7 separate regions of the Homo sapiens genome follow, and all the other regions are linked to region 5. The links are contacts of gene promoters, found by promoter capture Hi-C in blood cells and fetal thymus (Javierre and others, 2016). All regions are on one chromosome and are shown on one strand. Each heading gives the region's core, a stretch centred on a gene start or on the middle of the fragment in contact. The rest is flanking DNA. Distances are from core to core; before and after follow the strand shown. Region 1 overlaps UIMC1 (ubiquitin interaction motif containing 1). Region 2 has its middle 23 kb from the start of NSD1. Region 3 holds the start of FGFR4 (fibroblast growth factor receptor 4). Region 4 overlaps UIMC1 (ubiquitin interaction motif containing 1). Region 5 holds the start of TSPAN17 (tetraspanin 17). Region 6 overlaps UIMC1 (ubiquitin interaction motif containing 1). Region 7 overlaps UIMC1 (ubiquitin interaction motif containing 1).

Region 1 (3,340 bases), core at 779-3,278, 350 kb after region 5:
GGAAGAATCACCTGAACCAGGGAGGTCAAAGCTGCAATGAGATGTGGTCATGCTACTGCACTCCAGCCTAGGCAACAGAGTAAGACCCCGTATCAAAAAAGAAAACAAAAAGCCACCATAGAATGGAAGAAAATATGTGCAATACATTTATCTTGCAAAAGACTTGTATCCAGAATATACAAACAATTATTGGGCCAGAAATGTTGGCTCACGCCTGTAATCCCAGCACTTTGGGAGGCTGAGGCAGGTGGATCACCTGAGATCAGGAGTTGGAGACCAGCATGGCCAACATGGCGAAACCCCATCTCTACTAAAAATACAAAAATCAGCTGGGCATGGTGGTGTGCACCTATAATCCCAGCTACTGGGGAGGCTGAGGCATGAGAATCATTTGAACCCCAGAGACAGGGGTTGAGCCAAGACTGTGCCACTGCACTCCAGCCTGGGCAACAGAGCAAGACTCCATCTCAAAAAAAAAAAAAAAAATTCTTGGCCGGGTGCAGTGGCTCATGCTGTAATCCCAGCACTTTATGAGGCCAACACGGCTCACCACAATCTCAACCTCCTAGACTCAAGCAATTCTTCCATCTCAACCTCCCAAGTAGCTAGGACCACAGGCATGTGCCACCACACCCAGCTAATTTACTTTTTATTTTTTGTAGAGACAAGGTCTCACTACATTGCCCAGACTGGTCTCGAACTCCTGGGCTCAAGTGATCCTCCCACCCAGGTCTCCCAAAGTGCTGGGATTACAGATGTGAGCCTCCATGCCCAGGCACAAATATTTTCTTACCTTTTAAAAATATATCTAATCATCATGGCACGAATATACCTATATAAAAAACCTGTACGTTCTGCACATGTACCCCAGAACTTAAAGACTTAAAGTCTAATAATTATAAAGTATCTCTACTGATAATTTGTAAGGCACAACCACAACATATGTATATTTACTTTTTTAACTATATGAATACTAATGTATGTATTTTGTGTACTGGAAAACATACAAAAATCTGCCAGGCGCGGTGGCTCACGCCTGTAATCCCACCACATTGGGAGGCTGAGGCAGGAGGATCACCTGAGGTCAGGAGTTTGAGACCAGCCTGGTCAACATGGTGAAACCCCGTCTCTACTAAAAATACAAAAATTAGCTGGGAATGGTGGCAGGCACTTGTAGTCCCAGCTACTTGGGAGGCTGAGGCAGGAGAACTGCTTGCACTCAGGAAGCAGAGGTTGCAGTGAGCCAAGATCACACCACTGCAGTCCAGCCTGGGTAACAAGAGTGAAACTCTATCTCAAAAAAAAAAAAAAAGAAGAAAGTATACAAAAATCAAAGTGTGAAAAGGATGAAATAGTAAAAAACACTTGGGTAATGCAGCATAAACATGCTTATTAAACACATAAACACTGGGAGGCTGGCTATGTCACTTTACATCTCTAGGTGGATTCCAAAAATTACACTCCAGCCTGAACAACACACTGAGACCCTATCTCAAAAGAAAAAATAAAAAAAGACAAACCAATATTTAAAAGAAGCAAGCGATATTAACAAACTTCACAAAAGCAGATATACTAAAGGCCAATAAGGAAAAACAAACAGATATTCAATATCATTATTCATCAAGAAATTACAAATTAAATTTACAATGGCCTAACACTGTATATCCATTAGAATGGCTAAAATTGAAAATAGTGACAATACAAATGTGGGCAGGAATGCAGAATATAATGAACCTCTCATATACTGCTAATGGGAATGTAAAATGGCATAACCACTTTGGAAAACTGGCAGTTTCTTTAAAAAAAAAAAAAAAAAAAAAGTATAACTGTCATGTAAGCCAGTCATTCTGTTGCAGGAATCTGGAGACTGGAGAGACCAATGCGTGGAACAGGAGGATTTTCTTTAGGTGGCCACCAGCCCAGCAGATTAACATCCAAAGGCTGAGCCCTCAACAAAGACAGGGCTTGACTTTTATACACACTTCTGAAAGGGAGTTGGCTAGTTTGAATGGTGCGGTGGGAATGTGACAGTGCGAAACTCATGGGGCAGGCAAGCAGGCTTACAGAAGCAGAACAAAGGCAGTTAATTAAATTGCGACAGGTCTCGCAACGCAGGCATAGCTTGTGATCATGCAGCTGCACAGTAGGGAAAACAGGAACTTACAAAACTTGTGAAACACAGGTATTTGTAGAAATAGTTATGAGAAAGGAATTTGTTTTCTTTTCTTATCCTCACTCTGGGGCGGGGTGTGGGGGGCAGTGTGCTGGGAGAGTATCTGGAGCTCATTCCTTTGGGCTCTGGCTTTTCAGATAGTGTTATCAAGGCTCTGCCAGGGCCCTGCCTATTGCTGGCCTTGGAGTGAGTCAGCCAAGTACAGGAAAACTTGTTTTTCTCTTTTTAACTTTGCTTCAATTCCACTACTATTAATTACTCAGTAGAAATGAAAACATTACCACCCAAAAACTTGTATATGTATGTTCATAGCAGCTCTTTCCATAATGTCAAACACCAAAGACAACCCAGATTCCATCAACAGATGAAATGACAACTTGTGGGCTGGGCATGGTGGCTCACACTTGTAATCCCAGCACTTTGGGAGGTCGAGATAGGCAGATTGCTTGAGGACAAGGATTTGAGACCAGCCTGGCCAACACAGTGAAACCCCGTCTTTACTAAAAATGCAAAAATTAGCTGGGTGTGGTGACATGCACCTGTAATTCCAGTTACTCAGGAGGCTGGGGTAGGAGAATTGAATTGCTTGAACTCAGGAGCCGAGACCATACCACTGCACTCCAGACTGGGTGACAGAGAAAGACTCTGTCTCCAAAAAAAAAAAAAAAAAAAAAAAAGGCCAGGCACGGTGGCTCACACCTGTAATCCTAGCACTTTGGGAGTCCAAGGCGGGTGGATCACGAGGTGAAAAGATCGAGACCATCCTGGCTAACACAGTGAAACCCCATCTCTACTACAAACACAAAAAATTAGCCAGGCATGGTGGCAGGAGCCCGTAGTCCCAGCTACTTGGGAGGTTGAGGCAGGACAATCGCTTGAACCTGGGAGGCAGAGGTTGCGGTGAGCCGAGATCATGCCATTGCACTCCAGCCTGGGCAACAAGAGTGAAACTCCATCTCAAAAAAAAAAAAAAAAAAAAAGGAATATAAAGTGGTACATCCACTTTGGAAAACAGTTTGGGAGTTTCTTAAAAAATAAGCATGTATCTACTACATTACCCAGCCATTTCATTCCTAGGTATTTACTCAAGAGAAATAAAGACGTGAATGTTCATCATAGCAGCCTTAGTCATAAGGGACAAAAACTGGAAATAACCCACATATCCAT
Region 2 (3,349 bases), core at 202-2,701, 460 kb after region 5:
TCACGAGGTCAGGAGTTCAAGACCAGCCTGACCAGTAGGGTGAAACCCCGTCTCTACTAAAAATACAAAAATTAACCAGGCATGGTGGTGCACACCTGTAATCTCAGCTACTCAGGAGGCTGAGGCAGGAGAATGGCGTGAACCCAGGAGGCGGAGCTTGCAGTGAGCTGAGATCGTCCCACTGCACTCCAGCCTGGGTGACAGAGAGAGACTCCGTCTCAAAAAAAAAAAAAAAAAAAAGCTGGAGAACTCCAGGTGCTGGCAAGGAGACGAGAGGCTCTCCTGGACTGGGGGCTGAAGCTGTCCCAGCGAAGTCTAGGAGCATTCAGCTAAGTATATACACACATGCCCTATGACCTGGAAATGTTGCCCTGAACATATAACTGCCCCCAAACACACACACACACACACACACACACACACACACACACACACAACACACAGAGATCCTCCCATGTGACCGTGTGGGGAAGGCAGGAGGAGGGGTTGGATCCAGCCTGGGGTTCCTCACTGGAAGGCGGATCAGCAGAATGTGTGGAGGACCCGGTGGACACAGAGCCACATGGGGGACTTAGAAATCTCGTGCTGAGAGGCAAGAGGAAGAAATGGAATGAGATCTAAAGCACAAAGCCACTTGCACGAAATGATGACACGGAAAACACACATTTTCCAAGAACGCACACACAAAACTATTAGCACGACTGTCTGGGGGGCAGGGTGATAAGAATGGAGAATGAGGCCTGGCGTAGTGTCTCACGCCTGTAATCCCAGCACTTTGGGAGGCCGAGGCGGATGGATCTCGAGATCAGGAGATCAAAACCATTTTGGCCAACATGGTGAAACCCTGTCTCTACTAAAAATACAAAAATTAGCCGGGCGTGGTGGCACGCGCCTGTAATCCCAGCTACTCCGGAGGCTGAGGCAGGAGAATTGCTGGAACCCGGGAGGCAGAGGTTGCAGTGAGCTGAGATTGTGCCATTGCACTCCAGCCTGGGCAACAAGAGCAAAACTCTGTATTAGAAGAAAAAAAAAAAAGAACGAAGCACTGAGCACTGACCAGATAGAGGAAGGCGTGCAGGGGTGTGGAGTTGTGGAGTGTTGGGAATTGAAAGGCTCAGTAAATCAAGAAATGTTTACTGGGCACCTACCATAGGCCAGGTACTCTTCTAGTCACTGGGTATACCCAGTGAAGACAGACCTGGCCCCTGCCCTGAGGAGTTTCGTATCTACAAATGGAGACAGATATTCAACAAACACCCAGGAAAATGCTGACTGTAATGAAACGCAGAGCTCTGAAGGTCAACAGCCTGCAGCTGTGAGTGCTGACGGTGGGGACTGATCCTGGCCGGCTCCGGCTCCGGCTCCGGCTCCGGGAAGGGTTCCCTGAGGGAATGATGTTTGAGTTGAAGGAGGAGAGCCTTGGCCTTGTGAAGAGTGGGAGGAAATGCATTCCAGGCAGACAGAATGGTCTCTGCAAAGGTCTGGAGGCAGGCAGGTGCAGGGCGAAGGTGAGGGCATCCGATCCAGCTCCGTGGACAGAGCACAAGAGTGAGGGGGAACACGGTGCCAGATGAGGCCAAACCCAGGGGGCCTCGTAGGCTGTGGGTTTATCCTAAGGCAAGTGACAAGACAGGAAAGCAAGGGGCTGGTGCAGATGGGCAGGCAGTGGAGGGGATTGTTGCAGCGCCTGGCTAGACTCAGAGCCGGGAACCGGAACAGCCCCCCAAAGTACATGTGTGGCCTCCCAAGAAGACAGAAGTAAGAGCCCCAGAGCATCCACAGAGTGACCATCCACGCTGTCTCCCACTCTCTGGTCTGGGGCCAGCAGCGCCTCTGCACAGCTACATTCTGAGGCTCCCAGCTTGGCCAAGGGGATAGAGAAAAGTGGAAGGCCAGATGCAGAATAAGAGGATTTGCTAGGCCAGGCATGGCATTTCACGCCTGAAATCCCAGCATTTTGGGAGGCTGAGGCGGGAGAATGACTTGAGGCCAGGAGTTCAGGACCAGTCTGGGCAACACAGTGAGACCCTGTCTCTACAAAAAAAATAAAACAATTAGCCGAGTGCGAGAACACGTGCCTGTAGTCCCAGCTACTTGGGAGGCTGAGGTGGTAGGATCACTCTTACAGAGAGAACAGTCTCTGCTTGGAATAGTCCAAGCTCCTTAACACGCAGAGGAGGCCTTCAGGATCTGGCCCAGTAGGTTGCAGTGAGCTACGATATTGAGTCTCTGCACTCCAGCCTGGAACACAGAGCAAGCTCCTGTCTGAAATAAATAAATAAATAAATAAATAAATAAATAAATAAATAAAAGGGAGGCCGGGCACAGTGGTTCATGCCTGTAATCCCAGCACTTTGGGAGGCTGAGGCGGGCAGATCACCTGAGGTCAGGAGTTTGAGATGAGCCTGGCCAACACAGTGAAACCCTGTCTCTACTAAAAATACAAAAATTAGCTGGGTGTGGGTGGGCTACTAGGTAGCCCAGCTACTCGGGAGGCTGAGGCAGGAGAATCGCTTGAGCCCAGGAGGTGGAGGTTGCAGTGAGCCGAGATCATGCCACTGCACTCCAGCCTGGATGACAGAGCAAGACTCCCTCTCAAAAACAAAATAAAAATAAAAATAAAAGGGGGCTGGGCGCAGTGGCTCACACCTGTAATCCCAGCACTTTGGGAGACTGAGGCGGGGGATCACAAGGTCAGGAGCTCAAGACCAGCCTGGCCAAGATGGTGAAACCCCGTCTCTACTAAAAATACAAAAAATTAGCTGGGCGTGGTGGCGGGCGCCTGTAGTCCCAGCTACTTGGGAGACTGAGGCAGAGAATTGCTTGAACCTGGGAGGCGGAGGTTGCAGTGAGCCAAGATCGCACCACTGCACTCCAGCCTGGGTGACAGAGCGAGACTCTGTCTCAAAAAAAACCCAGAAAATAAATAAATAAATAATAATAAAAGGGGACTGGCTGATGGGGGGTGGGAGGGTGAAGGAGGTGATGGAGAACCTGGAGATGGGAAAGGACAGAAAGTTGAGTGAACAGGTGGCATCAGTGTGTTTCAGGGGCCTGAGGAGGGACCACAAGGGGGTGGACAGGGCAGATGATGATGAAAATGTCGCCAGACCAACACACTGTGCCTGACCGTGAAACAAACAACAGGAAGCCAGCAGCATCCCAATTTCACTATCCTTGTGCCTTTCACCCCAACTCTTCCCAGCCCCTTCCACGTCCATCCCTTGGCCTCGTCCTCTCCTTTCCTCCTCCATCTCTTTTTTTCTCTCTGGTCTGTCTGCCCTGTGAGGGGTCTCCAGGTAGAAGGAAGAGTTGGAGGGGACATGGTGGGGCGTTGTTGCCACCTGCT
Region 3 (3,305 bases), core at 686-3,185, 440 kb after region 5:
ATTTTTAATAGAGACGAGATCTCACTATGTTGCCCAGGCTGGCCTCGAACTCCTGAGTTCAAGCGATCCTCCCGATTCAGCCTCCCACAGTGCTGGGATTATAGGCATGAGCCACCATGCCTGGCCTCAATTATTTTCTGATTTATCTTTGGGAGGAGACCATTCTTTCGCTTAAGAAGAAAAAGAAAAAAACAATTTTAAGTCTCTTTAATGGGCCTTACAGTTATGCAAAGATATGCCACTATCCCTTTGGGAGTGAGGGTGGAAAGAACTAGACTTGCCTGCGTAACAATGAGAAAGGAAGTTGCTTCTTAAGACAGGGTCTACACTAGCTAGAGGGGACAACCAGGACCTGAGCCTCAGACAGGGTCTCGCTCCATAGCCTGTTGCCCAGGCTACAGTGCAGTGGAGCGATCACGGCTCACTGCTGCCTCGACTTCCTGGGCTCAAGCAATCCTCTGGCCTCAGCCTCCCAAGTAGCTGGGACCACAGGTGCACCCAGCCCATTTCCCTTCCTCTCAAGGTGCCTTAAGAGAAGGAGAAGGCTTGAGATTCAGGTGAGGGATGGGCAGAGATCAGAGGCTGCCTGGCCTCCTGGTTTGGCCACAGTCTAGATGCTCAGGAGAGAAGTGCTTACAGGTGAGGCAAACATGAGCCAGGTGGGCACGGAGCTATCTGGGAGCACCTACTGTATGCCAGACACTTGAACTCTAATGGTGAGGTCTGAGGACACAGTTCCTCTACTGAAAAATAGAGACAGGGCAACTATGTTGCCAGGGCTGGCCTCACACTCCTGAATTCAAGCTGTCCTCCTACCTCAGTCTCCTAGTAACTAGAACTACAGGCACCCGTCATTGTGCCCGGCCATTCCACAGCTATTTACATAATTAACTGTTCAGTTACAATTCTGGCAAGCGTGCTGAAGAAATAACAGGTCCTAAATAATTACAGCTAGTATTACAAAGCAAGCGCTGCATGCCAGGCTTACACATACTGCTAACATGTCTACTTTTTGCAACAACCTCTTGTGGGTGAGACTATCATTTGCCTGTTTTACTGAAAGGACAGTGAAGACTGAGGCCTTGTGTGATGGTGCTGAGAGCTGGGCCTATGACGTCCAGCCCTGTAGTCTGTGCTCTGAACCACTTCACCCTGTTTCTTTCTCCATCCTCACAGTAGAGACGTCATCTAAGAGGAGCTTGCAAGTCCAGAGGGCTTCCTGAAGGAAGTGAGCTGAGAATAATATGAAATTAACCAGACCAAGGGCCATTCCAGGAAGAGAGAATGGTACGTGAAACTGCCCAGGAGTAGCAGGGTGGGAGCCAGGAGGCGTGGGTCATGGCAATCTATGTATAAAGAGCTATGGGAATCTATAGGAAAATTTAAGGGAGTGGCTGACACAGTCAGATTTGTGTTGTAAGTATCACTCCGCAGGTTGCGCAGGGAACAAATGAGGGAGCAGAAGGAAGGGGTTCTCCTATCCGCTGCACGGCACTGCGCAGAAGACAGGGGAGCCAGGCATTCCCTGAAGGGTGAAAAGCAAGGAGTAGAGCTGGGTAGTAGACTAGAATTTAGGAGCCTGGCCTGGGGCCTGGGTGGGGCGAAAGAGGCGGAGCCTGAATGGGGTGTGTATAGGGGGGTTGCGTGTAGGGGTGTGTGTATAGGCTGGGGCGGGGTCCCGGGAGTGGGCTGACTGGGTCGGGGGCGGGGCTCTCCAGGTGGGCGGGGATCTTGGCCACCCCTGGCCACACCTCTCTCCGGCTCGAGCTGGTCTAGGCGGGGCGGGCCCGAGGGGGTGTGGCAGGAGGTGGGCGGGCCCGGGTGGGGGGGGGGGGGGCGTGGAAGGAGGGGCGGGCCCGAGCAGGAGGGGGCGGGCCCGAGGGGCGGGGTGGGACAGGAGGTGGGCCGCTCGCGGCCACGCCGCCGTCGCGGGTACATTCCTCGCTCCCGGCCGAGGAGCGCTCGGGCTGTCTGCGGACCCTGCCGCGTGCAGGGGTCGCGGCCGGCTGGAGCTGGGAGTGAGGCGGCGGAGGAGCCAGGTGAGGAGGAGCCAGGTGAGCAGGACCCTGTGCTGGGCGCGGAGTCACGCAGGCTCGAGGTGAGCCGGAACCCTTGTGGGCCCGGGCTGCGCTCCCAGCCGCCAGGGGGCGAGAGGCGGCGGGGCTACGGGGACTGCCCCTCCCGGCGCAGGGGACCTGGGCGTCCGCCGGGCGGCAGGGGGTGGAGGGGGCGGTAAATCAGTAACCCGCAGTGCACACAGGGCCTTTTGTCCCGCTCCGTCCAAAGAGCACCCCGGCCGCGGAGCTGGTTACTCATTGCCCACCGAGGCGGGGGCAGGCTGGCCCTGTGCAGCTACCCTCGGGACCCATTGATTCGCACCTCCCCCCAGGCTGGCCCGGCAAGGGTGGGGGAGGACAAGCGCGCTTGTCCCTGCGGCTGTCTTCGCGCCGGCGGCAGAGATGAGGGACCTGAGGCCCCGAAAAGTTCAGTCACTTAGTGCCCGGGGGCCTCCAGCGCGAGTGCGGGAGGCTGAAGGAGAACCCAGGACTGTCTGATGCCTAAGGCAGGCCCTCCATTCCCACGTGGGGGGTGGTCGGTCAGCGGTCAGCAGCCATGGGTGACTCGACTAAGGACTCTGATATCAGGGCAGCCTGGGGTAGGAATAAACTCCCCGGGCCTCCCCACCCACTCCCAGCCCAAGCTGTGTACCCAAAGAGCTGCCCTCCCTGCCAAGCCGAGCTTGGTAGGGAGTTTTACCAAGGAGGATCCGACTGGATTCGAGAGTTGAGGTGGGCCAGAGACAGCAGTATCTGAGTCAGGTAGAGAAGAGCAATGAGGGGCACAGAGGGATGGGCAAGAGAGCACATGTGCCCAGTTTTGAAAGCCAATGGCTTCAGCGCTCCTGAAGGGGCAGACGGTGTGACCAAAGAGATAGGCAGCGGCAGAGAGGGAGCCCTAGGATGTTGAGCTGGATCCTGCTGGGCACAGGTAGCCATTAAGGGCTTGCAAGCTGGGGGGCATGACATGGCAGACTTGCAGGTTTTTTTGTTTGTTTTTTTATTTTATTTTATTTTTTTATTTTGTTTTTTTTGAGACGGAGTCTCACTCTGTCGCCCAGGCTGGAGTGCAGTGGCGCGATCTCGGCTCACTGCAAGCTCCGCCTCCCGGGTTCGCGCCATTCTCCTGCCTCAGCCTCCCGAGTAGCTGGGACTACAGGCGCCCGCCACCGCGCCCGGCTAATTTTTTGTATTTTTAGTAGAGACGGGGTTTCACCGTGTTAGCCAGGATGTTCTCGATCTCCTGAC
Region 4 (3,387 bases), core at 81-2,580, 300 kb after region 5:
GGCTGTGATTAACAAGATTTTCTTGATCAATGTCTTATGCTGTCTGAAAAGTAGGGATTTTGGTACAGACTTTTTTTTTTTTGAGATGAAGTTTCACTCTTGTTGCCCAGGCTGGAGTGCAATGGCACGATCTCGGCTCATTACAACCTCTGCCTCCCGGGTTCAAGCAATTCTCCTGACTCAGCCTCCTGAGTAGCTGGGATTACAGGAGCCCGGCACCACGCCTGGTTAATTTTTTGTATTTTTAGTAGAGACAGGGTTTCACCACGTTGACCAGGCTGGTCTCGAACTCCTGACCTCAGGTGACCCACCCGCCTCAGCCTCCCAAAGGGATTACAGGCATGAACCACCGCGCCCAGCCTCTGGTACACTCTTAAAGAGATAAACCAACAGCTCCTCGGTAACTCAGCAGAGATATGATATGTAGGACATGAATGTAAATTAGTGATATTTTTCAGCTGCTGTCTCTAGGTAAAATTTCTATTAAAACAAACTACAAAAAGAGGGAAAAAACCTACAAGGGGTTTATTCTGAATGAAAAACGTGGAACTTAGTTCAAGTTCCACAGGAATCTCAATATTTGAATACATAAGTTGAAATGCAAGGTCCACTGCACTGCACTGATTTCTAGCCTACCTATGTAAAAGAATAAGTTAATACGTTAAAAGATGGGCCAGGTGCAGGCTGGGCGTGGTGGCTTACACCTGTAATCCCAACACTTTGGGAGGCCGAGGCAGGTGGATCACGAGGTCAGGAGATGGAGACCATCATGGCTAATATGGTGAAACCCCATCTCTACTAAAAAAAAAATACAAAAATTAGCTGGGCATGGTGGCAGGCACCTGTAGTCCCAGCTACTCGGGAGGCTGAGGCAGGAGAATGGTGTGAACCCAGGAGGCGGAGCTTTCAGTGAGCCAAGATCGCACCACTGCACTCCAGCCTGGGCGACAGAGCGAGACTCCGTCTTAAAAAAAAAAAAAAAAAAAAAAGGTTGGGCCAGGTGCAGTGGGTCACACCTGTAATCTCAGCACTTTGGGAGGCCAAGGCAGAAGAATCACTTGAGGTCATGAGTTCGAGAGCAGCCTGGCCAACATGGCGAAACCCTGTCTCTACTGAAAAAAAGTACAAAAAAAATTAGCCAGGCATGGTGGCGCAAGCCTGTAGTCCCAGCTACTTGGGAGGCTAAGGCGTGAGAATCGTTTGAACCTGGGAGGCGGAGGTTGCAGAAAGCCAAGATCGCGCCACTGCAATCCAGCATGGGTGACAGAGACTCTGGCTCAAAAAACAAACAGAACAAACAAACAAACAAAAACATTAAAAAATGAAAGACTTTTCCCTTCCCCTTCTCCTGAGGCATGTGTAACAGGACAAAATACCTGCTAAAAGTAATGATGAACATAAAAGTACTAGAAAAATAACTAGATAGAAAAAACCCAAGACCAACAACAACTTTAACTTTGAAGAACAGCTATGTTTTTTCCCTGCATTGTAATGTATAGGATTATAAAACCACCACACAAAAAAGTAAGAGTTTGGCTGTCCTGCTGGGTCTTTACCTGTATCTTCCTCCATCAGACCATTGCAGTACATGGCATGTCGTTCAATCTTTGTGGGTGGAAAGCATTGGTCACATAGCGGGCAGGATACCTGGTTACTGGATGAGAAGGTAGAAATAGCTACTTCCTTCTCAGCATCTTCCTTGTTACCAACCTGAAGAACATGACAAACAGCAATCATAACAGCTTTAGTTCATATCATTCCCTACAACGAACTGCAAGAGACTCCACCCCATATTTCACTTACTTTCAAAGAGACAACAACAGCTTATCAAATTCAGGAGTAAAGATTGAGAGATACTACTGATAGAGTCAATACTTATTCAGTGCCTTATACTGCCAACTATGTATTAAACACTCTACATGTATTACTCGTTTATCAGTAAGTTTATATATTACTCATTTATATGTAAGTATATTTATACTGACAACTATGTATTAAACACTCTATATGTATTACTCATTTAATCTTACAAAGTTATTAGCACACTCCTTTTGTACACGTGAGAAAAGTACTTGTGTAAAACAGTAAAGCAATTTGCAAAGTCACAGAACAAGTAAGTGGGAGTGTTGAGATTCAAATGAAGGACTAGAATCTGCCTCAAAAACTTGAGGGCACTGATCTCTACCACATTGTAAGGCACAATCCTCATTGCATCAGTGTGCTGTGCCTGCTGGGTTTCACATTTTGCATATCAACAGCACCTTAAGGACACATTTTCAATTTCACAAAAGGACTGTTATTACTGTAAGTGACTTTAAGACATAAGGAGTTAGAAAACAAAAGAGCTCTAAGCCAAAAACAGCACAACTAGGATTTAAGTTAAGAACATAAGTCTGTACTTAGACCCATAAGACCTAAGACCTGTGTTTTATTTGTGACTTTCTGGATTGAAAGAGGAAACTAAGATCTACATACTTAAGAAGCACCAAATAATTCATTAGTTAAAATAATCAATTCTGCCAAAGCCACTCTTAAACCTATCTCTTATTCCTCTGTTTTGTAGTCATCATTTCTCCTACAGTTGCTGGTATCTCTTAAAGGCAGTTTTATTTTACCTACACAGGTTGATCAGAGCCAAGAACTCTGCAGTGATTAATTCAACAGTGTGTGTGAGCACTGCAGCACTACTGCCTAACACTTGCTTCAAAGGACAGCATGTCCTATCCAATCAATGTGAAAACATCCTGCATAGCTACTGCTTACATTTAAAGCAAGGGACACCCGGGCTGTCATTACACCTTACTACATGAGGAAAACAAATAAAATATCTTCTGATACAAGAACAAAACACGACCAAAACTTCAATGCATAGAAAATGTGACTTCTGAGTCAACTGGGTCTTTTGGGGTAAGAGGTTGGGGCTATCTCTAAAACCTAATGCTTATAAGTGTGATCCAGCAGAGATGAAAACAGGCCATCTAAATACCAAGTCAAACTGCCAGAAAATGTCCTGTTTTCAACATCACCTGCCTTTTATTAAAAGACATACTCTAAAGGCGTAAAACCTAAAAGATGAGAAAGGAACTAACAGTGGTTGAGTTCTTACACTATGCAGGCTCCACCAGTCATTTTCCATATCCATCCCTCCCAACAAGCCGCTGGACAGAAGTATCACTAGTTCTGCTATTACAGAAGGGGAAACTGAGGCTTGGAAAAGCAAAGTAACTTGCTGGTCACAAAGTTACTAAGTGAACAAACCCAGGCCCACTTGGCATCAAAACCTTCAGTAATTCCATTCTATCATGTTGTGGCAGAAATAAAAAGCCTCTTCCCATTCCACCTTGTTTCTGGAAGCGGATCCTGCAAGGAATTAAGAAACTATCAGGT
Region 5 (3,098 bases), core at 22-2,521:
GTGGAAAAAACTCCTGAGGGTGGGGTGAGTCATGGCGGGGAAGGAGGGCTCTATGGTAGGCGGAGAAACCCATAGTCCAGCGTTTACTGTTTCCACCCAGGAAGGAGGTGAGGTGGCCTGAGAGACAGACTCTTCCATGGGTGGTGGGCTCAAGGGCACAGACATTCTGGAGGGTGAACGCCATCATTTGTACAGAGGGATACGTGGGTTGCTGAGGACTGAGAGAGCCTTGCAAGGCCGCTCCCCTTCTCCCCAGCTGTGACCAGGGCTGTCTGGGCCTTGCCTGCCTCAGGGCCAGACTGAAGTGGAGGTGGAGGGATGCTGGGCTAGGCCTCACCAAGGTTCTGGTAGAAGTGGTGGAAGTGGATAAACTTGATAATAAAAGCTTAAGCATCTTTCTGTTCCTGTTTTAAATAAATACTTCTGAACAAAGTTGGAATTATTTTTAAGAGGGCTTCAAACTGGAGTAAGATTCAGGTTCCCCCAAACTTTGATCTGCCTCTGTCCTGTCTTACAGGGGCTCATGTGAGATCACTGGGTACCAAGGAGCCTGACCGGGACCCTGGCCAGTATGGAGGACAGGGGGTGTGGCTGGGGAAACTCAGCCACCAAGGGGGCTTGAGCCAGGTTCCGGGGGGCATATGCCCCTGGCAGGGCGCAGCCGGCGTGGCACCAAGGCCCAGGCCCTCGTTTGGCCTGAGTTTGAGTCAGGATAAGTAGAGCTGGATTTCCGCTGGGTGAAGGTGAGCCTGATGCGACTCCACAATGACAAAACGTCCTGCACGTGTTAAAAACTCAATCCGGACCAGCTTCCCCATTCGCCTGCCAGAGCAGCAGTTAACCTTCCCCTGGGATGGGCTCCAACAGCAGGCTGGGGATTGGGATGGCGCTGGTACCCAGCAGGGGAAGCAAGGCTTCTACACCCCGGCGGCCTCCGGCGCCATCAGCCGGCGTCCCGGGCGGGTCTGCAGGACGCTGGGAAACGCGGCGGCGGCCTGCGCGGGGGCGGGGCCTGGCCGAAGGCGGGGCTGCGAGGAGGTCCGAATCAGGCTGTGGGGGCGGAGCTCGGGAAGCGGAGCCAGGTCCAGAGGCGGGGCTCAGGCGGGACTGAGTTGATCTATGGGGGCGGAGCCAGGTCAGGAGGCGGGACTCCAAAGGGACTGAGGGCTGTGGGGGCGGGGCCCGGTCCAGAGGCGGGGACAGCAGGGCTCCGGGCAAGGAGGTCTGGATGCTGAGGGCGGTCCCTGAGGGGCGGGCGGGGCCCGACCGGCGCTCTGTGTGGCCGAGGCCATGAAGCCGCAGCCGCCCGGCTAGGCCCCGGGCGGCTCTAGCCCAGGGCGGCCCGCGGGGCGCTGGGCCTGGCTCCCGGCTCCGGTTTCCGGGCCGGCGGGTGGCCGCTCACCATGCCCGGCAAGCACCAGCATTTCCAGGAACCTGAGGTCGGCTGCTGCGGGAAATACTTCCTGTTTGGCTTCAACATTGTCTTCTGGGTGAGCGCGGGGTCTGCGCCTTGCCCTGTGCTGGGGGGTGGTGGGAGAGGGAGATTCAGTCTTTTGCTGGGGGAGACCACTCCCTGCCCCAAGAGTTTGGAGCTCGGGACCATCCCCCCACTTCTGCCACACCCACGCCCACTTCCAGGACCACCCGAGGTAGCTACAGAGGCCCGGATTGCTGGGGGCGGGTCCTAGCGACAGCGTGGGGTCGGGGTTGGGGTAGGGAGTCTCCCTAAATAATCCCGAGGCCTGGTGGAGAAAGGGAAGGTGTTTCCTTGAAGACCCCAGGGGCGTGCTAGGTGCAGGTTGCCCCCTCTCGCCCAGCCCTCCTTCCTACCCTGGGATGTGGGATGCGTGCCAAGCCCCACCCCTGGTTTAGCCGGTAAGGAGATTCTGGCGTGAAGGGAGCCGCCAGGCCCCTTCCCCGGCCTCCTTTCCCTTCCAGTAGTACCTGGGTCAGGTGCCTCACCTTAGGCTCCTGCAGAGTGGGGTGGGTCACAGTCCTCTGCCCACCCCAGTCCCGCACAAGGAGGCTGACCTGCCAGGAGGGGCAGGGAGGGACAATGGCGAGTCCTTGGCGGCTGGGAGAGGATCTCCCCGGTTGAGAGCCTGGGAGCTGGCCTTGGGGAACAGAATTCAACATTCCACAGCTGACAAGCTGAGGCTCCTGGGCGGGTCTGCCCCTACCGGGGAAGGGAGCTACTAGTGCCCCTCCCAGGGTGGCATCTGTCCCCCTGGGCCCTGCCAGGTCATTTTTCCCATCTCTCCAAAGCCGTGGCCCTCTGCAGTCTCTGCTCCTGAGGCCTTGGGTCAAGATGCCAGGCCTTTTCCCTTGTGTTCAGCAAGACTCAGTGGCACTGCCCCCCACCCACGTGTCACCGAGCTCACTGGTGTGGTGGGTGTCCTTGCACTGCAGCGCTAGGCTCTTGAGGGTGTGGGCAGTGTGTGGGAGCACTGGCAAAGAAGTCAGAAGGCCTGGCTGTAGCAGGCCTGGCTGGGACACCTTGGGCAAGTCATCTCTCCTCTCCGGGCCTCAGCTTGCCTGCCTGGGAGACGACGATAAAGAATCTGCCTGTGAGGGCTGTTAGGCAGATACAATGAGTTCAATTTGTTGTATTCTCACAACTGCCTTATTATCTGCATTTTACAGATGGGGAAACTGAAGGAATAGACACAGAGAAATTAAGTCACTTACCTAGGGTCACACAGCCAGAAAGTACAGAGCCAAGGTGACGGCTTAGTGGGCAGAGGGTGGAGGTGAGGCAGAGCTGTGAGCAGAAGTAACCTCAAATACCGAGGGGGAGCAGGCGTGAGAGACCCGGGTTTGTTGCTGGGGCGGAGCGTGGGGTGTTATGTTAAGGTGGCATGGAGAAGCGAGGGCTTCCAGTGATGGGTCTGATCTGGCTTCTGTTCTGGAGACCGCTTGCCTGGCTGCTGTGTGGAGGGTGGATGAGGGGCAGGGCCTGGAGGTTTGGAATGGGGGCAGGGCTGGGGCAAAGCTGGGATGGTGAGGTGGGAAAGGTGAGGGAGGTTGCTGGGAAAGTCAAGAGGCTGAATTGACTGGGCTGGGTCACTTGGGGGCTGGAGGGAGGATTTCAGATTTGG
Region 6 (3,124 bases), core at 243-2,742, 280 kb after region 5:
TTCTATGATACAGTATATTAACTGATTTTCTAATGTTAAACCAACCTTTCAGACTTTTTTGATGAGAAAAAAGTAGTACTTGAGAGAACTTCTACACTCTTCCACCACCAAAAGTATTAGTCTATCTGCATCTGTACCCATATCCTCTGCCTTCCCTCCTATTGCACAGAATGAATTGCCCACACGGCTATCTAAGGCTCACTTTTCCATTTGATCCTGAATCTGAACGCTTCTTGCTTAATTAAGGATTCCCCTCCTGCCATCATCTCTCCTGAAACATCAATTTTTCCCTCTTTTTTTAGATCATTCCATCAGCATACAAATATGCAGTAATATTTCCCATAAGGTTATTTCTAGACTTGTATATCCTGCTGTCTGCTCAACATCTTCATTTGGTTATTCACTGGGCATCTTAAAATTATGTACAAAACCAAATTCTTAATTTCTTCCTCCAAACCTGTTCCTGCCCCAGTGTTCCCGCTCTCAAACAACGAAGTCATCATTAACCCAGTTGCTTGGGGCAAAACCTTGATTTCACCTTAGTCTTTCTTGTTCTCTCACACTCCAATAAATCCTGTAGGTTCAACCTTCAAAACATTCCCAAATCTGACAACTTCTTTACCTCACAGCTACCTCTATGGTCAAAGCAAACATCAGATCTTCCCTGGAATAATGCAACAGCCACTCCCCTCCACCCCTGCTTAGTCTCCTCAATTCCATTTTTGCCCCATCCCTCTATAGATTATTTTCCACATTGTAGCCAGAGTTAGATTACATCATTCCCTCGTTCTCAACCCCCCTATGGCTTTTCATCATATTTGGAATGAAGTACAAAAACCTCACCTCACATGATCTGACCACTGTTTATTTCTTCTCTCCTTTCCCCCTGTCGCTCAATCTAATTCAGTCATTGTGTCTTTCCTGCAGCTCTAAGAAACATGCCAAACACACTCTTGCTTTAGGGCCTTTGTATTTATTCCCTGACCTAGAATGACTCTATTCAAATATCACCTCAAGAAGTCTCCCTTGATCTTTCTCTTTAATCGAGCCCCCTTTTTCCTCTGTTCTAGTCACTCTCCATCCCCTCTTCTTGCCTTGTTTTTCTTAAATTGTATTTATTATCTGTTTCCCTCACAAAAAGGTAAGCTTTATAAGAACACTGACTTGTGTTTAGTACTGTACCCTCAGCTTGCAGAACAGTATCTGCGTTATAGTTGCTGCTAAATAAATACCAACTGGGTTGTCAGTAAGGAAGTACAAGCAATAGTTAAACAACACAGTGATCTTCTGAATTACTCAGAGGGGCTTTCTAAGTTGAGTACCCTACAATTGGCTTAGCCAGAAACCTGAGTTAAGATTGCCTTCTCTCATCTTGACCAGTCACAAGGTTTGCTTCTCTCACCAAAAGATTCTCAAGTCCGTCCACTTCTACTAACACTGCTTTATCATCTGTCTCTCTGCTTTTAGTCTCCTCCAAATTATGGTTAATATTTCAGAATACTGTATTTTCTTTCAGTCTTTATTTTGAATCCTTATATAATACTTCGTCTTGTTTTTGAACATTGGGTTAAGTTGTTCATTGTTATAAATAATGCTTTGATAAACCATCTTTGTCTATACAATTTCATCTAAATTCTGATGACGTTTTTAGAGTAGATTTTCAAACTTTAATTCATGGGTCAGAAGATATGAATTACTTTTAAGTTCTACGTATATATTATCAAATTGCTTAAACAAAAATTTCAGCTGTTAAAGATTAAGCTATAAATATTATAGACAAGTACTAGTAAGGAAGTAGATCAGTAAAAGTGCACCTCTTAAGAGAACAGGCTTATCTCTAAGCTTGAAAGAAAATCGCTACATTTTGAGTAGGCAGGGGGCCTCTGTGGCTTTTTTGCAGCAAAGAAGGCAGTCTGGCATTGCAGTACTGTCTTTGGAGTCTAACTGCCTTTGAATCCTATGCCAGAGCAGGTATTTATAGGCTTCAAGCCCCTAAGCCTTTGTTTGCTCATCTGTAAATGGACCCAGCAATGCTTATCTTTTTAGGGTTGTAAAGATTTCTATTTAGGAACTACCAACATAATCACGTAAGATGTTTGAGTTAGAAGCTATGTCTATTAGAATAAGATTATCAAGCCTAGTACCTGAGAGAACAAGAGATTGTCAGAATGGATAAAAGCATGACCCAATGGTATGCTGTCTACAGGAGACACATTTTAAAAATAAAAACACAGATCAGTTAAAAGAATGGAAAAAGATGTATCAGGCAAACAGTAGGAATAAGACTGAAATGACTAGAACCATATCCAGTAGTTCTACCAGATAAAATACACTTCAAGAAATAATTAGCTGGGTGTCGTGGCACATGCTTGTAATCCCAGCTACTTGGAAGGCTGAGGTACAAGAATCCCTTGAACCTGGGAGGCACAGGCTGCAGTGAGCTGAGACAGTGCCACTGCACTCCAGCCTGGGCAACACAGTGAGACTGTATCAAAAGCAAAAAAAAAAAAGAAAGAAAGAAAATAAGGTCGGGCACGGTGGCTCACACCTGTAATCCCTGCACTTTGGGAGGCTGAGGCGGACAGATCACTTGAGGTCAGCAGTTTGAGACCAGCCTGGCCAACTTGGTAAAACTCTGTCTCTACTAAAAATATGAAAATTAGCCGGCCATGGTGGCGGGTGCCTATAATCCCAGCTACTCAGGAGGCTGAGGCAAGAGAATCGCTTGAACCCAGGAGACAGAGGTTGCAGTGAGCCGAGATTGTGCCACTGCACTCCAGCCTGGGCAACAGAGCAAGACTCTGTCTCAAAAAAAAAAAATATATATATATATACACACACACAGACACACACACACACACACACACACACAGACACACACACATTATCAGGGATAAAACTGGAAATTACATCGTATATTTACATGTTGGCTCAATAATTTATATGAAACCGTGAAAGACTAGAATATCTACCACAATCTGGCCGGGCACGGTGGCTCACGCGTGTAATCCCAGCACTTTGGGGGGCCGAGGCAGGTGGATCACCTGAGGTCAGGAAGTCAAGACCAGCCTGGCCAACATGGCGAAACCCCATCTCTACTAAAACTACAAAAATTAGCCAGGCA
Region 7 (3,204 bases), core at 8-2,507, 320 kb after region 5:
CACAAATTACTAAACACAAAAATCAGAACTCAACTCCAAATCCATGTTCTCTATTCTATGAAGCTCCTCAAAGTTACCATTTCTTGAACCTTTATCATAACACAAGAAAGACAGAATAACATAATAGTAAAACAAAACCAAAAGTCAAAGTCTGGTAACAGAAATAGCAAGAAAAAACAGTATAGTCATAAAACAGAATACTCTTTAAAATTACAATTTATATATAAAGAGTTTATATTATTGCTTTATAATATTCAAAGGGAAAAATAAGATATAAGCTTTCATACACAATATAATCTAGCTACTTCAGAAAAAGCAAACTAAATGTACCAAGATGAAGATTGGTTTCAATAAATTATTCAAAACCACTACAAGCAAAATAATAAATATACACCATTATGTAATGGGAAAAAATAACTCGGAAACTATCCATACTTCATATCACAAAGGACTACTTTCTCTACTATATAAAGTGTATCCACAAACCAATAGATTATCAAAAGAAAAAATGATCATAAGATCTAACAGACAGAAAAGGAAATACAAATGGGTCTTAGACATGTGAGAAAAAAGTTCAGCCTCACAAATAGTAAGAGATACGCAAATTAAGACTACACTGAGACGCCATTTTTCATCTCTCAGACTGGCAAAGATCAAGAAGTCTGACAATACTGCATTACTGTAGGTATGGAGAAACTAGTATTCATACACTGCCAGTGGGAATGTAAATGTATATGATCTCTATGGAGGGCAATTTGGCAACAGCTAATGAAATTATAAATACATTTTTTGGTCCACCAATTACAGCTACAGAAAATTATCATATAATACAAATATCTTCCATGTGGATGAAATGTCTTCTGGACATTTTACTATCTGTAACAGTAAACTCTGACTAATCCACACATGGTATTTTTCACATCCAAAAAAAAAAAAAGATGAAGAAATTCTTTATATACTGTTATGTAATGATCTCATTAGGATATTAAATGAAAAAAGTAGAAAATAATGTGTAAATCATTTGTGTAAAAGAAGGCAGGGAAAAGAAAATGTATTCTGCTTGTACCAGATAAAGTATCTTGGAAGGATACACTAGAACTAGTAACACAAATTTGAGTCCAGAGAGGGGAACTGGCTGGCTAGGTGATAGGGAGAAAAGTTAAGACTTTTTACTTATATATTTTTGAATTTCGAGCCATGTGAATATTGTTACCTATTCAAAAATTTAACCTTTCAGAAATAATAATAATTTTTAGACCAGGCGTGTTGGCTCATGCCTACACTGCCAACACTTCAGGAGAACAAGGTAGGTGGATGGCTTGAGTACAGGAGTTCGAGACCAGCCTGGGCAACAAAGTGAAACTCAATCTCTACAAAAAATATAAAAATTAGCTCAGCGTAGTAGCGTGCACCTATGGTCCCAGCTATTGCGACGGGCTGAGGTTGGGGGATCGCTTGATCCCAGAGGTGGAGGCTGCAGGGACCCAAGATGGCATCGGTGCACTCTAGCCTGGGTGACAGAGCGAGACCTTGTCTTTAAAAAAAAAAAAAAAAAATTTATACAAAAAATAAATTATGGTTTATCTATGGTAGAATAAGTCATCTATTAAGAAATGATCTAAGATAAACTATAAAGTAGGGAGAGGAACAAAACTTAACACAGAAGAGTCTTCATTTTGTTCAAAAAATTTTTTCATGTATTTTTGTATGCATAGAAATGATGACTGGCCAGGTGTGGTGGCTCACGCCTGTAATCCCAACACTTTGGGAGGCCAAGGCATGCAGATCACAAGGTCAGGAGTTCAAGACCAGCCTAGCCAACAGGGTAAAACCCCGTCTCTACTAAAAGTACAAAAATTAGCAGGGCATAGTGGCAAGCACCTGTAATCCCAGCTACTTGGAAGGCTGAGGCAGGAGAACTGCTTGAACCCGGGAGGTGGAGATTGCAGTGAGCCGAAGATTGCGCCATTGCACTCCAGCCTGGGAGACAGAGCGAGACTCCAACTCAAAAAAAAAAAAATGGTAGTTTTTTTCTTCTTTATACTCTCCTGTACTTTCCTAATTTTCTATAGTGAACATGTATTACTTTAATAATCAAGGAGGGGAAGACCACAAAAATAACAGCTAAAATAATCCTTGTTTTAATCTGTGAATAAATCATCCTTAATTACAGCATCACTGACCCTTACCTGACCATGACTGGTTGTTGGTTCTTCCTCCAACAAAAGTTTCTCTTTCAAGCTTTTAATTGAGCTTTCCTGGAAATCCTTGGTTTTTGAGTGCCAGTCAGATGCCCTAGACTCCTGCCTCTCCTCTTTGTCTTCATCTCCCATATCTTCTGAGATGCATTCATTTTTCTCACTAGCCTGCTCTCCTTGGCCACATTCATTCTGGATCAGAGAAGGAGGTCTAGGTAACACTGGTTCCCCAAAACCTTTTTTATTAAGGAGCTGCCTCTGAGCCATTTTCAGGCTCTTTTGATAAACCTCCAACTGGCAGAGAATGACCTTGGTATACTGGTTAGGGTCTACTCCATCAGGGCAGAATGGAATACCCCAGAAATAGTTCACAGTGCCCCCAGTGTCCTGGAGACCTTTGGCATCTGCTAGGGTAGGTAGACAGTGCCTAGATGTGTCCCCGCTACCCTGGACAGCTTTGAGAAAAGCAGAACCCCTCCCAGTACTTTCCTGTGGCTTCCCACACTGTGTGTGCTCAGCCGAGTGGCCAGTACATCTGTCAAAAGATTTAACGTTCACATTCTCAAACACTGGCTGGCTTGACTGGTCCCAGCTTCCTGAGCTGCCAGAGACCGGCTCCTCTTCAGTTTTTTCAGTGTGGTCCCAAGGCTCCTCTCTTTCCTCAGCCTCGTTTCCCTGACTGATATGTGAGCCTTTAAACAGTGATGGAGGTACCAGCTGCCATATGCCTGTAGGTATTTGAGAAAAAGTAGGGCTAAGGACAAACTTTTTTATTAAGAGGGCTTGGTAAGTTATCACTTACCAAGAATTACATAATATGGGTAAGAAAGGCTCTTCTTTGGGTTTAACCAAATGTTGGTTTTTCCTTGGAGATAAAAGTATGCCGGATATTCTTATGATCTCAACTACTTCCTGATTTAACTTCTTTATTATCACCAAAAGGATCTGGGGTATTTCCGTGTATCTACTCTCAGCATGAGATCCCTGTGGTACAGTTATACTTGAT

Evidence for each region. The method cuts DNA at HindIII sites, captures the fragments that hold promoters and counts their contacts. A CHiCAGO score of 5 or more calls a contact.
Region 1: a contact is called between a fragment that was not itself captured here and the fragment with the promoter of TSPAN17 in region 5, in 1 of 17 cell types (endothelial precursors). The highest score is 5.2, in endothelial precursors.
Region 2: a contact is called between a fragment that was not itself captured here and the fragment with the promoter of TSPAN17 in region 5, in 6 of 17 cell types (endothelial precursors, total B cells, naive CD8 T cells and 3 more). The highest score is 8.7, in endothelial precursors.
Region 3: the fragment with the promoter of FGFR4 here is called in contact with the fragment with the promoter of TSPAN17 in region 5 in 1 of 17 cell types (endothelial precursors); the score reaches 5.2 in endothelial precursors.
Region 4: a contact is called between a fragment that was not itself captured here and the fragment with the promoter of TSPAN17 in region 5, in 1 of 17 cell types (M2 macrophages). The highest score is 5.2, in M2 macrophages.
Region 6: a contact is called between a fragment that was not itself captured here and the fragment with the promoter of TSPAN17 in region 5, in 1 of 17 cell types (endothelial precursors). The highest score is 5.3, in endothelial precursors.
Region 7: a contact is called between a fragment that was not itself captured here and the fragment with the promoter of TSPAN17 in region 5, in 14 of 17 cell types (naive CD8 T cells, M0 macrophages, naive CD4 T cells and 11 more). The highest score is 10.1, in naive CD8 T cells.

What each region holds. Positions count from the first base shown.
Region 1 is chr5:176,992,712-176,996,051 of GRCh38, forward strand. All of the region lies in intron 1 of UIMC1 (ubiquitin interaction motif containing 1), which reads right to left. Among named protein-coding and RNA genes, the nearest start is that of UIMC1, 12 kb to the right of the region's middle. The HindIII fragment of the contact is 4,492 bases long and covers 1-3,340 here.
Region 2 is chr5:177,108,695-177,112,043 of GRCh38, forward strand. No RefSeq gene overlaps it. Among named protein-coding and RNA genes, the nearest start is that of NSD1, 23 kb to the right of the region's middle. RefSeq lists an enhancer at 1,540-2,039. The HindIII fragment of the contact is 6,039 bases long and covers 1-3,349 here.
Region 3 is chr5:177,084,980-177,088,284 of GRCh38, forward strand. FGFR4 (fibroblast growth factor receptor 4) reads left to right here and starts at 1,936. Exons shown (of 18, transcript NM_213647.3): 1 at 1,936-2,098. RefSeq lists silencers at 1,547-1,596, 1,847-2,306, a promoter at 1,817-2,036 and an enhancer at 2,002-2,452. The HindIII fragment of the contact is 20,491 bases long and covers 1-3,305 here.
Region 4 is chr5:176,941,779-176,945,165 of GRCh38, forward strand. UIMC1 (ubiquitin interaction motif containing 1) reads right to left here. Exons shown (of 15, transcript NM_001199298.2): 10 at 1,557-1,710. Among named protein-coding and RNA genes, the nearest start is that of HK3, 44 kb to the left of the region's middle. RefSeq lists enhancers at 1,536-2,394, 2,395-3,252. The HindIII fragment of the contact is 4,397 bases long and covers 1-3,387 here.
Region 5 is chr5:176,646,213-176,649,310 of GRCh38, forward strand. TSPAN17 (tetraspanin 17) reads left to right here and starts at 1,272. Exons shown (of 9, transcript NM_130465.5): 1 at 1,272-1,490. The coding sequence starts at 1,404. It overlaps EIF4E1B (eukaryotic translation initiation factor 4E family member 1B), which reads left to right. Exons shown (of 9, transcript NM_001099408.2): 9 at 1-432. RefSeq lists enhancers at 1-170, 2,532-3,098 and a silencer at 844-1,503. The HindIII fragment of the contact is 21,997 bases long and covers 384-3,098 here.
Region 6 is chr5:176,921,056-176,924,179 of GRCh38, forward strand. All of the region lies in intron 10 of UIMC1 (ubiquitin interaction motif containing 1), which reads right to left. Among named protein-coding and RNA genes, the nearest start is that of HK3, 23 kb to the left of the region's middle. The HindIII fragment of the contact is 696 bases long and covers 1,145-1,840 here.
Region 7 is chr5:176,966,366-176,969,569 of GRCh38, forward strand. It overlaps UIMC1 (ubiquitin interaction motif containing 1), which reads right to left. Exons shown (of 15, transcript NM_001199298.2): 6 at 2,190-2,926. Among named protein-coding and RNA genes, the nearest start is that of UIMC1, 39 kb to the right of the region's middle. The HindIII fragment of the contact is 1,963 bases long and covers 277-2,239 here.